2 separate regions of the Homo sapiens genome follow, and region 1 is linked to region 2. Evidence: promoter capture Hi-C in human tissues and cell types (Jung and others, 2019). All regions are on one chromosome and are shown on one strand. Each heading gives the region's core, a stretch centred on a gene start or on the middle of the fragment in contact. The rest is flanking DNA. Distances are from core to core; before and after follow the strand shown. Region 1 overlaps DERL2 (derlin 2). Region 2 holds the start of RABEP1 (rabaptin, RAB GTPase binding effector protein 1).

Region 1 (6,671 bases), core at 1,311-3,810, 190 kb after region 2:
AAGAGACTTAAGTTGAGGTCCCTGTTAGGTAGAAGTGGGAGTAAAGTTAAGAAAAAAACAAGTATGCATATAATGTAGGGGCTTACTAAGAAGTCACTGTGGATTTCTGAGCAGAGGAGTGACTTGATCATACAAGATTCAACAATTTTATTGCAAACTCATAAAATATGTTTAAGTAGCCTGGAGACATCCTACAGAACACAGAAAATAATGGCAGGATCATGACTAACAACATAGCTGGAACTCACCTGTCAAAGAAAAACAGCTACAACATAAAACACTGGCAGGATAGATGACAATAGTTCTAGGAAGCCCATTACTCAACATGGCAATAGCTCCAATGCTTCCTTATTTTCAGAGGCCCCAGAGACTGAGGGTTTCATTATCCAGACCCAGGACTTAGGTGTTCTGCTTCTAGAGACTACACAAGAGGTATGAAAGATATGAGGACATACAAGAGTGACACAGAAAAAACAAGAGGAAGAGAGAAACAAATAGAAATCCATACTGGAAAAAAACGCACCGAAATGTATATAAAATGTATCTCCTAAGGAGATGCAATTTGTATGTCCATTTATTTTTAAATGAACGTATACCGTATTTCCATAACAAACAAAAAACACTATGCTTTAGTCAAGTGTGCTTTTCAGTATCACTAGAAGAATCCAGGAATCCCTCAAATTATGTGTAAGGTTAGTTGGTTGGTCTCAAAATTCCATGTATCAAATCTCACTTTCAGTTTATTTGCATTGTGAAAGGGAAGTGTGTTCTGGAAGAACTAAGATTGAGAGGTAAATTGGGGAGAAAGTAAGGACTTTTCCTTATGTCCATTCAAGCACAGGTATCCTGTCAAGCAACACAGGGCTAGGAATGGTGGTTGTAGGGCTGGCCAAACTGATGAGAGGTGATTGAAATTACCACTGCTCAGGACACAGTGTAGTCAGTCACACAGCAGGGCATCCTGCCACTGGGAACTTGCACCCTATAAAATCGGAGAAATCAAAAACCCTGTAACTGCCTGCCTTTAGGCTGTATATTCAAAATGTATTTCCTGTTTTACCTAGTCATTAATGTATACAGATATTCCCTACTTAAATGAACAGTGAGTTAACAGATTTTAGGATTAGTATTTTACCACAAAAATGCCATTCATTGCATAACTCCAACTCAGGGAGAACAAATAAAACTAGAGAAACTCATTTCTAGCCCAAAAACAATTTAAAAAAAAAAAACAAAAAACAAAATTCTAACAAACGTCACTGATAAAGCGTTCTTGAGCAAAAACAAGATAGGATAAAACTTAAGAATCCCATAAGGATTATACATGCTAAGATTGGCTTTTAAACTTTGAAAACCTTTTTTAAACTGCTTAAAAAGCAGTCCCATAGACCCAGGTTCCATAAAATTGCAACAATCATATTCAAAGTTATTAGCAACATGTAAAATACTTAAATACCATTAGTTATGCAATTCCATTTAAAGACATTAAAACACTTTTCACTTCAAAAACAATCTGAAAATTCCTATTTAGGATGTCCATTATGTTTAAGCCTATGTCTATCTTTCTGAGGACAATGTCACATTCTGGAAAGCTACCCCTTAACAAAGGTTGAATGAACTACTACTAACAATCCACTTTTGGGAAAGGGACCTGTGCCTACATGCCGTTAATGAAAGCTGTTTGGAATCATCTCTTTCCTAGGGGTGCTCTTTCGACTCTTCCAGGTTCTGGAAGTTACTTAAGCAGTGTGAATGCAAACCTGCTGAGACTCAGGGAAGACTTAATATTTAGGGGAAGTATTTATTGAACCACAGCATTAAGTGTCTACTTCTGTGGACCCTGTCTAATTTCTACCTGATTGGGAAGGTAATCCAGGTACTTGGCTCTGAAAAGGTTCTTGAATTTTCACGAAGCAAATGACTAATGTTAACTAGCCAAAGACCCTGGAAGAACATATGCCTAGCTAACTGGTATCTGTTCGTCTGGCTCCAAAGTCAACATTCTAACTTGGTTTCCAAATCTAATGAAAATCTGAGACCCTGTCTCTATTTTTTTTTTTTAATTAAAAAAACAAAAAACAAAACAAAACAAAAAAGGCAAAAAAAAAAAAAATGGCTGGGCATGGTGGCTCATGCCTGTCATCCTAGCACTTTGGGAGGCTGAGGTGGGAGGATTGCTTGAGTCCAGGAGTTCAAGACCAGCCTGGGCAACACAGTGAGACCCCATCTGTATTTAAAAAAAAATTTTTAATTAAAACTTTTTTAAAAATAAAAGAAAAAAAAAGTCTAATGAAAATCTTCCTAGTTTTACAAAAATGTGGCCCTTACCAATCTTTCCCTGGATACTTCTTAATGGAGAAATGTAAGTAAAGCAAATAAGATGCCACATTAGCTTACAGCTGACTTTCCTATAGCTGAATTCCTACTGCTACAAGAACCATCCTCCCTCCTTTTTTTTCATGTTGTCTGACAAAGTTTGGCAAAACCCAGATGCAAAACAACCTATCCAGATGACAGAAATAAATCATCTTCCTGCTGAATCTTGCATTCTGAGTTAGTAAGATGTACACAACCACAGCATGACAGCCACGTATTTCCAATCCTGAAATGAAATCCAGTTAAAAGTTGTGAAGACACAGGAAGAACAGCTGTGTAAACTGTTCTGAGCTCAGATCTACGCAGGAGGGCTACAATACATTATCAGAATTTAAAAGATCACACACAAAAGCTTTAATACAGTGAGAGAAAAATGGAATTCCGTTTTATTTTGTCCTCTCTGAAACTTCCATTTACACCATGGCCTCATCTATCAAGAAGAGGAAGAAAAGGCTCTGCCTTATACCATAAAAATCAAGTACTCATGTACTTGTTAGAGGTGGCAGGATATTTGTTTCTCCAGTTTTTTGGCTCTAAGAAATTACACTTTCAGTACCAGTGTAGTGAGGAACCACTGGCAAACTGTTGGAAATGTCTTCTGGATTAGTCAGTGTACCATTTCATAAAGTGCTTCTGGAGTTAAAATCTGCCAAGCTGTCAAAAGTGTCCACACTTTTGCAACAAAGGATAAAAGATCCCAGTGGGTATCACCGAGTCCTTCCCAGCTGGGTCTCATTATTGGCACTGCTGCTTTAACCTCCAAGCCGCTGGCCCTCACCCCAGGCGAAGCCTCCTGGCCGTTCCTCAGGTAGTGGATTGTAATTTGGATCCTCATCTGGTGTATCAAAAATAGCTTTCCTAAAAGACAAGCAACAGATATAATTTGGTCCCAGAGTCATCTCAGGTCCAAAGTACTACAAGGTCAGTTCAGGCCCCATAGGGTTTCCACCAATAGGTAAGCATTACACCTGCCTGCCAATTAAACAGTTAACATATTGTAAGAGCATCTATAATTATTAACATTTACATTAGCTTTTATCTTTTACTGATTTTTACTACAAAAGCAATCCAAATCATAATAATTACAGAGAAGGAGGAAATAGAGATGAGCAAAATATCCTCAATTTCCAGAGGTAACTATTGTCAATGTTTTAGTTATTCTTTGGGAATTTTTACATTATGTCATTTTACAAAAGTTAGATCACACTACATGTTTTGTAACCTGACTTTCACATATTTATCATTAATGTTTCCCCATAACCAAGGTATCACCCAAGTGTGCATCAACAGGTGAATAAACAAAATACGGTACACACATATAATAGAATTTTTTTTTTTTTTTTTTGAGACGGGAGTCTCACTCTGTCGCCCAGGCTGGAGTGCCATGGTGCGATCTCGGCTCACTGCAACCTCCGCCTCCCGGATTCAAGCAATTCTCCTGCCTCAGCCTCCCGAGTAGCTGGGATTACAGGCGCCCGCCACCACGCCCGGCTGATTTTTGTATTTTTAGGAGGGAAGGTTTTCATCATGTTGGCCAGACTGGTCTCGAACTCCTGAACTCAGGTGATCTGCCTGCCTCGGCTTCCCAAAATGCTGGGATTACAGGCATGAGCCACTGCACCTAGTCAACATGGTGAAACCCTGTCTCCACCAAAAATACAAAAATTAGCCTGGCGTGGTGGCGCATGCCTGTAATCCCAGCTACTACTCAGGCGGCTGAGGCAGAAGAATCACTTGAACCTGGGAGGCACAGGTTACAGTGAGCTGAGACTGCTCCATTGCACTCCAGCCTGGGCGACAGAGCAAGACTGTCTCAAAAAAAAGGAAGGAAATTCAGGCACATGGTACAACATGGATGAACCTTGAGGACTTTACGCTAAATGAAATAAGAAATAAGCCAGACAAAAAAGGACAAATATTGTATGATTCCACTTAGGTACAGAGTAGTCAAATTCAGAGAAAGAAAATAGAATGGTGATGGCTGGGGTGGGGAGTTGTTTAATGAGTACAGAGTTGTAGTTCTGTAGGATGAAGAGAGTTCTATGGATGGTGGTGATGGCAGCAAAACAGTATGAATATACTTAATGCCACTGAACATTTAAAATGAGTTAAGATGGTGAATTTTATGTTAGGTATTATTTTACCACAAAATTTTTAAAAAATTAACAAGGTATCCCAAGAAAAATTACTGCAGAACATAGGAGGGGATAGTAAATGTCCAAAAGACTCCCTAAGTACTATGATGTAGTAATTCAAAACCTCACTAAAGAAGGAACCATTAAAGCAGCATCCTCAATTTGCACTTATATTTCTACTTGTAATCCTCCACAGTTGATAAAATTAGAAATGTATCTGAAAACTTCTGATTTATACTGGAGTCAGAAAATAGTATAATTCAAAATGAGTTTTTAAAATTCTTACAAATTAACAATAAAAACAAACATACCAACAGAAAAAATGGGCAAAGGGCTGAATATGCAATTCAAAAAGGAAATCCATGTGGTCAATAAACGTGAGAATGTTTGCTCTCACAATAATCAAAGGAAAGTATATTAGAAACTGAGATCCCGGCAGGTGTGGTGGCTCATGCCTGTAATCCCAGCACTTTGGGAGGCCGAGGAGGGTGGATCACCTGAGGTCAGGAGTTCAAGACCAGCCTGACCAACATGGCAAAACCCTATCTCTACTAAAAATACAAAATTAGCCGGGTGTGGTGGCGCATGCCTATGATCCCAGCTACTAGGGAGGCTGACGCAGGAGAATCGCTTGAACCCAGGAGGCGGAGGTTGCAGTGAGCCGAGATTGAGCCACTGCACTCAAGCCTGGGTGACAGAGCAAGAATCCGTTTCAAAAAACAGCAACGACAACAAAAACAAAACTGAGATCCCTTCTACTGCCCAAACATTAGCAGGATGGGGGTGGGGGCACAGCCTGGTATAGGGAGTCAAGAGCCCCATCAGACCATGCACACATGGAGGTGGCCTGACGAGATGTTAGCCCGAGTAGGATGGGGAGGCATCCCTGTAAGAGGGCAGCCTGGTCTGGGGAATCTGAGGGTGAGTGAGATAAGCAAGGCATCCATATGGGAGAGGTGGAGACTATCCCGAAAGACTGGTTACATATGAGGGGTAATTAGGTAGGTAAAACATTAATCATAATAAGAATCAGGTTAGGACAGATGGAAAGGGCAGATGGAAAGGAGTGGTACATTCATACAACCAAATAATATTCAGCAATAAAAAGGAACAAATTACCAATAAATACAAGAACACAGATGAGTCTCAAAAACATTATGTTGAATGAAAGAAGCCTTATACCAAAGAGTACATGCATACTGTACAATTCTACTCATGAAGTTGTAGAACATGAAAAACTAATCTACAGAGGAACAAAACCAGAATAGCAATTGCTTCTTGGGGGACAGGTACAATGATTGACAGGGAAGGACATCAGGGAACTTTCTGGTTGATGGTAATTTTCTGTCTTGATAGATACACAGATGTGTGCATTTATAAAAACTCAGTTGACACACTCAAGATTTGTGTATTTTGTTGCACATAAATACTAAACTCTAGTTACTGATATGCACACTCAAGTATACAAGGAATTAAGTATACATATAATGGCACATACATTTTGGATTGGAAAGCTAGATGTAGGGATAGGTGTGCAATAAGAATAGGGAACTATTAATTACAGAATCTATGTGGTGGCTACATGAAGCTCACTCCAATTTTTTTCTGATTTCCTATAAGTTTGTTAATTTTCATAATAAAATATTGGAGGAAACCAATAGGAAAAAAGCTAGAATGAACCATGAGGTAGTACTAGAAATGGGAGTATAGTATAAACCCATGTTTTAAAAAATACATAGATCTAAAAATATACACATGTATACATTATCATACATACATACATATAATTCCATTGCTCTGTTCACTGAGAGGATCTGGGAATAGCAACACTCCAATAGCAATGAGCACATCTAGCACCCAGATCTTGGCTTCTAAATACCATTCTCCACTTTAAAGGAACCAGGGCTCCTTGAAGAAACAGCTGATTCTAGGACTGGATCAAGGAGAGCACAGGATGAGCCTGGTATATCTTGTTGTGCCAGAAAACAATTGCAAAAAAATAAAAAAATAAAAAGTGGGGTGTAGTGGCTCACACCTGTAATCTCAGTGCTTTGGGAGGCCAAGAGACAAGAGGATCACCTGAGGACTGGAGTTCGAGACTAGCCTGGGCAACATAGAGAGACCTTGTCTCCACAAAAAAAAACATTTAAGAAAGAAAAT
Region 2 (6,881 bases), core at 1,428-3,927:
CGTGGTGGCTCACACCTGTAATCCCAGCACTTTGGGAGGCCGAGGTGGGTAGATCACTTGAGGTCAGGAGTTCAAGACCAGCCGGGCTAACATGGTGAAACCCTGTCTCTACTAAAATTACAAGAGTTAACTGGGCGTGGTGACACACGCCTATAATCCTAGCTACTCAGGAGGCTGAGGCAGGAGAATCACTGGAATCCGGGAGGTGGAGGTTGCAGTGAGCTGAGATGGTGCCACTGCCCTCCAGCCTGGGCAATAGAGTGAGAGACTCCGTCTCCAAAAATTAAATAAATAATAAAATAAAATAAAATTACAAACTACTCCAATTAACCGCTAACCTTAATACAGTCTATCCTTCTACTTGGACAAATCTACCTGTTTAAGACCTGGAAGACCAGGTTTAAATTTAGAATTCCTGGGCTCCTGGGAGTTATGCCCATGAATGAGGTGGCGAAAGCAGCACAGGCCCTGGCCCAACTATTGTCTCTTGGCTCACTTGCCTTCTTTTCTCACCTCTGTCCTGCACCATGAGGGATCTGTGGACATAGGAGCTCAAACACCCAAGTGTCGTGTCACCCCCTTAAAATAAAACAAAGCTGCCCTTTAGCCTCCCTTTTTTTCAGTGAGAAATAATCATTTTAATAAAAGTATACCTTATTTAAAACAAATGATTTAAAGAAAGTAGAAACTGATTCTAATTAGTGGATTTTCTGATTATTATTATTATTATTTGAGATGGAGTCTCGATCTGTCGCCCAGGCTGGCAGTGGTGCGATCTTGGCTCACTGCAACCTCCGCCTTCTGGGTTCAAGCAATTCTCTGCCTCAGCCTCCCGAGTAGCTGGGAGTACAGGCGCCTGCCACCACACCCGACTAATTTTTTGTATTTTTAGTAGAGATGGGGTTTCACCATCTTGGAGAGGCTGATCTTGAACTCCTGACCTCGTGATCCACCTGCCTCAGTCTCCCAAAGTGCTGGGATTACAGGCGTGAGCCACTGTGCCCGGCCTATTATTATTTTTTTATTATACTTTAAATTCTTGGATACATGTGCTAAACGTGCAGGTTTGTTACATAGGTATACATGTGCCATGGTGGTTTGCTGCATCTATCAACCCGTCATCTAGGTTTTAAGCCCCGCATGCATTAGGTATTTGTCCTAATGCTCTCCCTCCCCTTCCCCCCACCCCCCACAGGCCCCGGTGTGTGATGTTCCCCTCCCTGTGTCCATGTGTTCTCATTATTCAATTCCCACTTATGAGTGAGAACATGAGGTGTTTGGTTTTCTTTTCCTGTGTTAGTTTGCTGAGAATGATGGTTTCCAGCTTCATGCATGTCCCTGCAAAGGACATGAACTCATTCTTTATGCTTTCACTTTAGCTTCTTTTAGGGATGTCTAGACTCTGCCATAGAGAGAATGGATCTGGGAAAGAGACCACAGCTTCAGCCATCTGGAAAGGGAATTCTGGGGCCACAAGTATTCAGAACTTGGTCCTGAAGTGCCAAACCCTGTGGACTCCCTCATCCTGGGGTGGGATTGCTGGGTCTTAAAATGTACATAATTCCTGATGCTCCTCTCTGATTTCAAAATAGCTTTTTAGGCCGGGCGCGGTGGCTCACGCCTGTAATCCCAGCACTTTGGGAGGCTGAGGCAGGCGGATCACGAGGTCAAGGGTTTGAGACCAGCCTGACCAACATAGTGAAACCCCGTCTCTACTAAAAATACAAAAATTAGCCGGGTGTGGTGGCGTGCGCCTGTTGTCCCAGCTAGTCGGGAGGCTGAGGCAGGAGAATTGCTTGAACCCGGGAGGCAGAGGTTGCAGTGAGCCGAGATCGCACCATGGCACTCCAGCCTGGGTGTCAGAGTGAGACTCTATCTCCAAAAAAAAAAAAAAAGCTTTTTAAACTACCTCCTTGGCATGGGGCACTCCAGGTGTCGAAATCAGACGGGGAGTGGTGATTAGAGGGGAGTTCCTAAAGTATAGGGCCCAGGGGCCCAAGTATAAGGGCCACACTTTGTGTATATGATTTCTCCTTTCCTGCCATGAGTGCAGGGTCTGTACCTGGCTGTATCTCCAGCATCTATCACGACTGAAAACCCAAACGTATTTGCTGAATGGATAGTATACTGGCCTCTGCACCAGAAGACCTGGGGTCCAGGCCCAGTACTGTCGGAAACAGTTCTTCATACTTTATTACCTCGTTTAAACTTTTCTTAGCCATTATATTGATAAAAATTCCAAGAGGTGAAGTGACTCTCCCAAGGTCGCAAAGCTAGAAGAGGTAGAGGCTGGAACTGCACCCCGCCATCGGTCCTCCTCTCTTACTCATTTTTTTTTTTCCCCTCACTGTGCTGGGGTGGAGAACCGGGACCGGCACCTTCGAGAGGCCAGGCCTCTGCTGCAGCCCCTCTTCTCCAGCTCCGCTCGGCACTCAGCCTCCCCGCGCCGCTGGGTCAGGCGCCCAGCTCCGCCGAAACCCTCCCCTCCCGCCGCGCTCCCTCCGCGCTCCCTCCGCGCTCCCTCCGCGCTCCCTCCGCGCTCCCTCCGCGCTCCCTCCGCGCTCCCTCCGCGCTCCCTCCGCGCTCCCTCCGCGCTCCCGAGGCCCCGCCCCTCCCCTCGGGCCAACGTCACGTGCCGCCCCATCCCCCTGCGCCTGCGCACTGCTTATTTCCCGCTGTCAGGATGAGGAGGCGGAGGTCGGCGGTCGGGTCCGTCTCTGCCCGCGGCTGTGGCGGCGCCGGCGGATCCAGCCTTAGCGGTTTCTCTCTGGGCGGCGGCGGCGGCGGCTCGGTTGACGCCTCCTCCGCCAGCTGAGCCCGCGGGAGCCCAGGACGCCGCTTCCCCGCCCATCCCCGCTCCCCGAGGCCGGCCGCCTGGTCATGGCGCAGCCGGGCCCGGCTTCCCAGCCTGACGGTGAGGCGCCCACCATGGCAGGCGCGGCGGGCGCGGCCTGCCCGGCGTCGGCGTCGCGGGAGGATTTCGGGGCGGGCAGGCGGCGGCAAGGGCGCGCGCAGGCCCCGGGGGTGACCCCGCCGGGCGGAGGCGGGGGCGCGCGGGCTGCGGCGCGCGAGGGCGGCGCGGGCGCCCCGGCTGCCGTCGCTGGGGAGGGGGCGGGAGGCGCGGGTGCAGCGCTTGCGGGAGGGCAGAGGGAAGGGCGTGGGGAGGCTGCTGGGTAGCGTGGGGTAGTGTGGGGAGGGAGCGGTTCTGGGTAGCGGGGGACCGGCACGTGGGTTCTGCCCGTGGGGGAGGATGGAAATCGGGAACATGTGCTATATTCGTTAAAGAAAAAAAATCTTAGCTTAGGTAGTGTACCCTCCCTGCCGCCCCAATCCTTGCTATAGAACTCTTTGCACCCAGTTATGTGACCTGAAAGTAGTTGTGTACAGTAACTGGATTTAGTAGCATTCCCTGAATGGCAGTGTGGCTTAATGGTTAAGTGTTGGGGCCTGGGAGTCTAGAGGACCTGTATTCTTAACCAGCAAGCTCTGGGCTCATTTCTTAGCCTCGTTGAGCCTCAGTATTCTCACCCACGAATTAACCAAGAGGTTAATTCATGCCTTTATATTTTATCTATAAAAATAGCAACACGAATGTGTATATACAATAATAGTATTATGGAGGTATTAGGAATAATGAGAATAGTGTTTGAGAATGCTGAGGCCTACTTGCACTACTTGAAGATATTTGCTTGTGGAACTAAAAAAAAAAAAGTGAAGTCGAAGAAATGTGTCATTTATATTCTTGGAAGGAAAAAAGGGCCCCATCCTAAATAATCAAAGTTGGTTGTCAGAGCCCTTCGTGACCTTCTGGGAAATTGGACTAAGCTGTGCTTCACAGATTGACTACATGGTTCCAGGTTTTACCACCTAGAATAGATGTTTGGAAATAGTGTGCTTGGGCTTTTCCAAGGTCCCACTGTATCTAGTTGTGAAAGTACTTTCTGGTGTATTTCTATAATCAGCGTGTGTGCTTAGCATCTTTAAGTGTGAGTAGAGTAGAATGTTGGGAAAAGGGGCTTGGTACGGAGTAGGTACTTTAAAACTTGGCTTTCCTTGGGGTTGTCTCAAAATAACCTTTCGTGAAACCCTTACTTTTTATTTTTGCCTTTGGGGAACTTGAAACCATGTTATCAGATTTTAAGGTTCTGGCTGCTCTCTGGGAAATGTGCTTCAGAGCCTGTTAGCCTGTAGTTTTGGGTGTTGTTGCTTGCCTAAGGGGAGATGTCCAGTAAGCATTTAGACTTTTATAAGAACCTGCTTTGCTGTTTCTGTTCCAGGAGAAGGGAAGGGAAGCATTTTTGGTGGGCTGTCAGAGAGAGGAAACTGGGATGTCTTCAGGCTGCATTTTAATGATCACCTTTTGCATTTGGTGTCAGGCAAGAAAACTTTGTTCTTCCACAATCCCACTTTGTTACTGCACACAGAGGCAAGATACAGAGAGCTTGTGGTTCTGAACAGGAGTGGTAGGTATGCATAGCTGGCTGCTGCCTTCTCTTGAGTTGCATGGAAAGAAACGTCTAGGGCAGCTCAGGTGACATGACCGTCTGGAATCAAAATTCCCTGCCTCTTTGAAGATATGAAATGGTCTTCCTTGTAAATAGGCAGAAGTGACTAAGCACTTGAACGAGGCTAGGGAAAACTAGCTTTAGGAAATCTTGTATTCTTGGTATTTTAGTTCAGGTTTCTTTCCTATTTCTCAAATCTTGTGACTCTAGGATGAGATTTAGTTTGCATAGATTGCAATTTTTATTTTAAATTAATGTAGGTAGCCATGGCTACTTTTTACAGTAGGAGAGAGATAATTTGGTACGTTTGAGTGCCTTGTGTCAGTGCCTTAGAAGTTCATCTTGGGGATTTTAATTTTTTTTTTTTTCTTTGAGACAGTATCTCACTCTGTTGCCCAGGCTGGAGAGCAGTGGCGCGATCTTGGCTCACTGCAGCCTCGACCTCCTGGGGTCAAAGCAATCCTGCTACCTCAGCCTCCCAAGTAGCTGTGACTACAGGTGCATGCCACTATTCCCAGCTAATTTTTGTATTTTTGTAGATACGGCGTTTTGCCATGTTGCCTAGGCTGGTCCCAAACTCCTGAACTCAAGGGATCCACCTGCCTACACTTCCCAAAGTGCTAGGATTGTAGGTGTGAGCCCGTGAGTCCGGCTTTTGGGGATTTAATTTGTGTCTTTAGCTGAACTCATGTAGACCATTTTAGCTTTAGGCACGTTTGAATTTCCTAGTCCTGCTGATTAAAAAAAAAAAAAATCGCCAGAATTCTTTTGTGTCAAACTGGTGGTGAAAGATAACTAACTGCTTAGTCTTTGACTTTATCTTGTTTTATCCTGTTTCAGAAGCGATTGTCTTTGATGACTTTTTAAAAAAAAAAAAATATTGTCTGTTTTTCATGGCCATATGGTAGATTAGGAAAATCGATTTGTGTGTAAATCGAAGGGATGAAATGTAATCATTTTATTCATTGTAATTATTTTGTAAGTTAAAAAAAGTTTTGGGTTTTTGATACTGCATCTTAGTTTACTTATTTGGAATACAGGTAATTTTAATAGTTAAAGAAATTTCAGTTGATCTGTTTTCCCTTGAGAATTTAAAAATGAAAATTTTCTAATTTTAGTATTTCTTTTAATCTAAGTTCAACTATATCTTTGAAGCATTTGCTCTGGTTTTACTTCACTTTTTTTCTTTTTTTTTTTTTTCTTTTGTAGAGAGGGTCTCATTGTGTTGCCCAGTCTGGTCTTGAACCCCTGGGCTCAAGTGATTCTCCCATCTTGGCCTCTCAGTGTTGGGATTACAGGCATGAGCAACTGCACCCAGCCTACTTCATTATTTTTTATTCTTGCCATGTTGGCCAGGCTGGATTCCTGATTGTTTCCTGTTAGTTACACAGACATGCTACCTTTTACCCCTGAAGGACATGCTTTACATACATAAGTCTGCAACTTCCCTATCTCACTTAATAAATGTTAGCTATCATATTATATACTCATGGTTATATGGCCATGTAATGTTCTGCAAACACTATAGGCATTATCTTAGGAAATCTTCATAGCAATGGTACTATTGAATATTACTGCTTCTATTTTCTTGATGAGGAAACTGAAGCACACAGAAGTTAAAGAAACGTGCCTGTGTTATACAGCTATTAAGTGGGGGAGCAGGATTCAAATCCATGCCATCTGGCTTATGTACTAGATCATGGACTACTTCCAGGTCAGTGTTGTAGGCCTTCTTCATTCTTCTTAAAGACGATCTTATCATATGCATGTACCAGGCATGATTTATGGCCTATTTCCCTATTGTGGGGCAAGTAGATTGTTTTCAAATTTTAATTATTTTATAAGCAGTGTTGTAATGGATGTCCTTGTGCATATTTTTTAAGGTACTCTTTTACTTCTGTAAGACTAGTGAATTAAATAAAGGGCATGAGTTCCGAGTGGTTTAAATTTTAATACCTGTTGCTAGCTTACTCTCCAAGGCATCAATTTACATACTTGCCAACGATATATGGCAGGTGGATTTCCCCTGTAATCCTACAAGCTCTGGATGATGTCATTTGTTTTAAATTTGTGTCTTTTGATTAAAAAAAGTGATATTGTTTGGCCGGGCATGGTGGCTCATGCCTGTAATCCCAGCACTTTGGGAGGCCAAGGCAGATGGATCACAAGGTCAGGCGTTCAAGACCAGCCTGGCCAATATGGTGAAACCCCATCTCTACTAAAAATACAAAAGTTAGCCGGGTGTGGTGGTGCGCACCTGTAGTCCCAGCTACTCAGGAGGCTGAGGCAGAAGAACCGCTTGAACCCGGGAGGTGGAGTGAGCAGTGAGCCGAGATCGTGCCACTGCACTCCAGCCTGGGGGACAGAGTGAGACTC

The links. Contacts are between HindIII fragments. The study calls those that stand out against the background at their distance.
Region 1: a contact is called between a fragment that was not itself captured here and the fragment with the promoter of RABEP1 in region 2, in 1 of the 25 tissues and cell types used here (aorta).

Annotation. Positions count from the first base shown.
Region 1 is chr17:5,471,556-5,478,226 of GRCh38, forward strand. It overlaps DERL2 (derlin 2), which reads right to left. Exons shown (of 7, transcript NM_016041.5): 7 at 1-3,234. The coding sequence ends at 3,129. Among named protein-coding and RNA genes, the nearest start is that of DHX33-DT, 5.8 kb to the left of the region's middle. The HindIII fragment of the contact is 6,926 bases long and covers 1-6,023 here.
Region 2 is chr17:5,279,607-5,286,487 of GRCh38, forward strand. It overlaps RABEP1 (rabaptin, RAB GTPase binding effector protein 1), which reads left to right and starts at 2,678. Exons shown (of 18, transcript NM_004703.6): 1 at 2,678-2,914. The coding sequence starts at 2,881. RefSeq lists a silencer at 2,398-3,117 and an enhancer at 4,965-5,483. The HindIII fragment of the contact is 8,494 bases long and covers 1-6,881 here.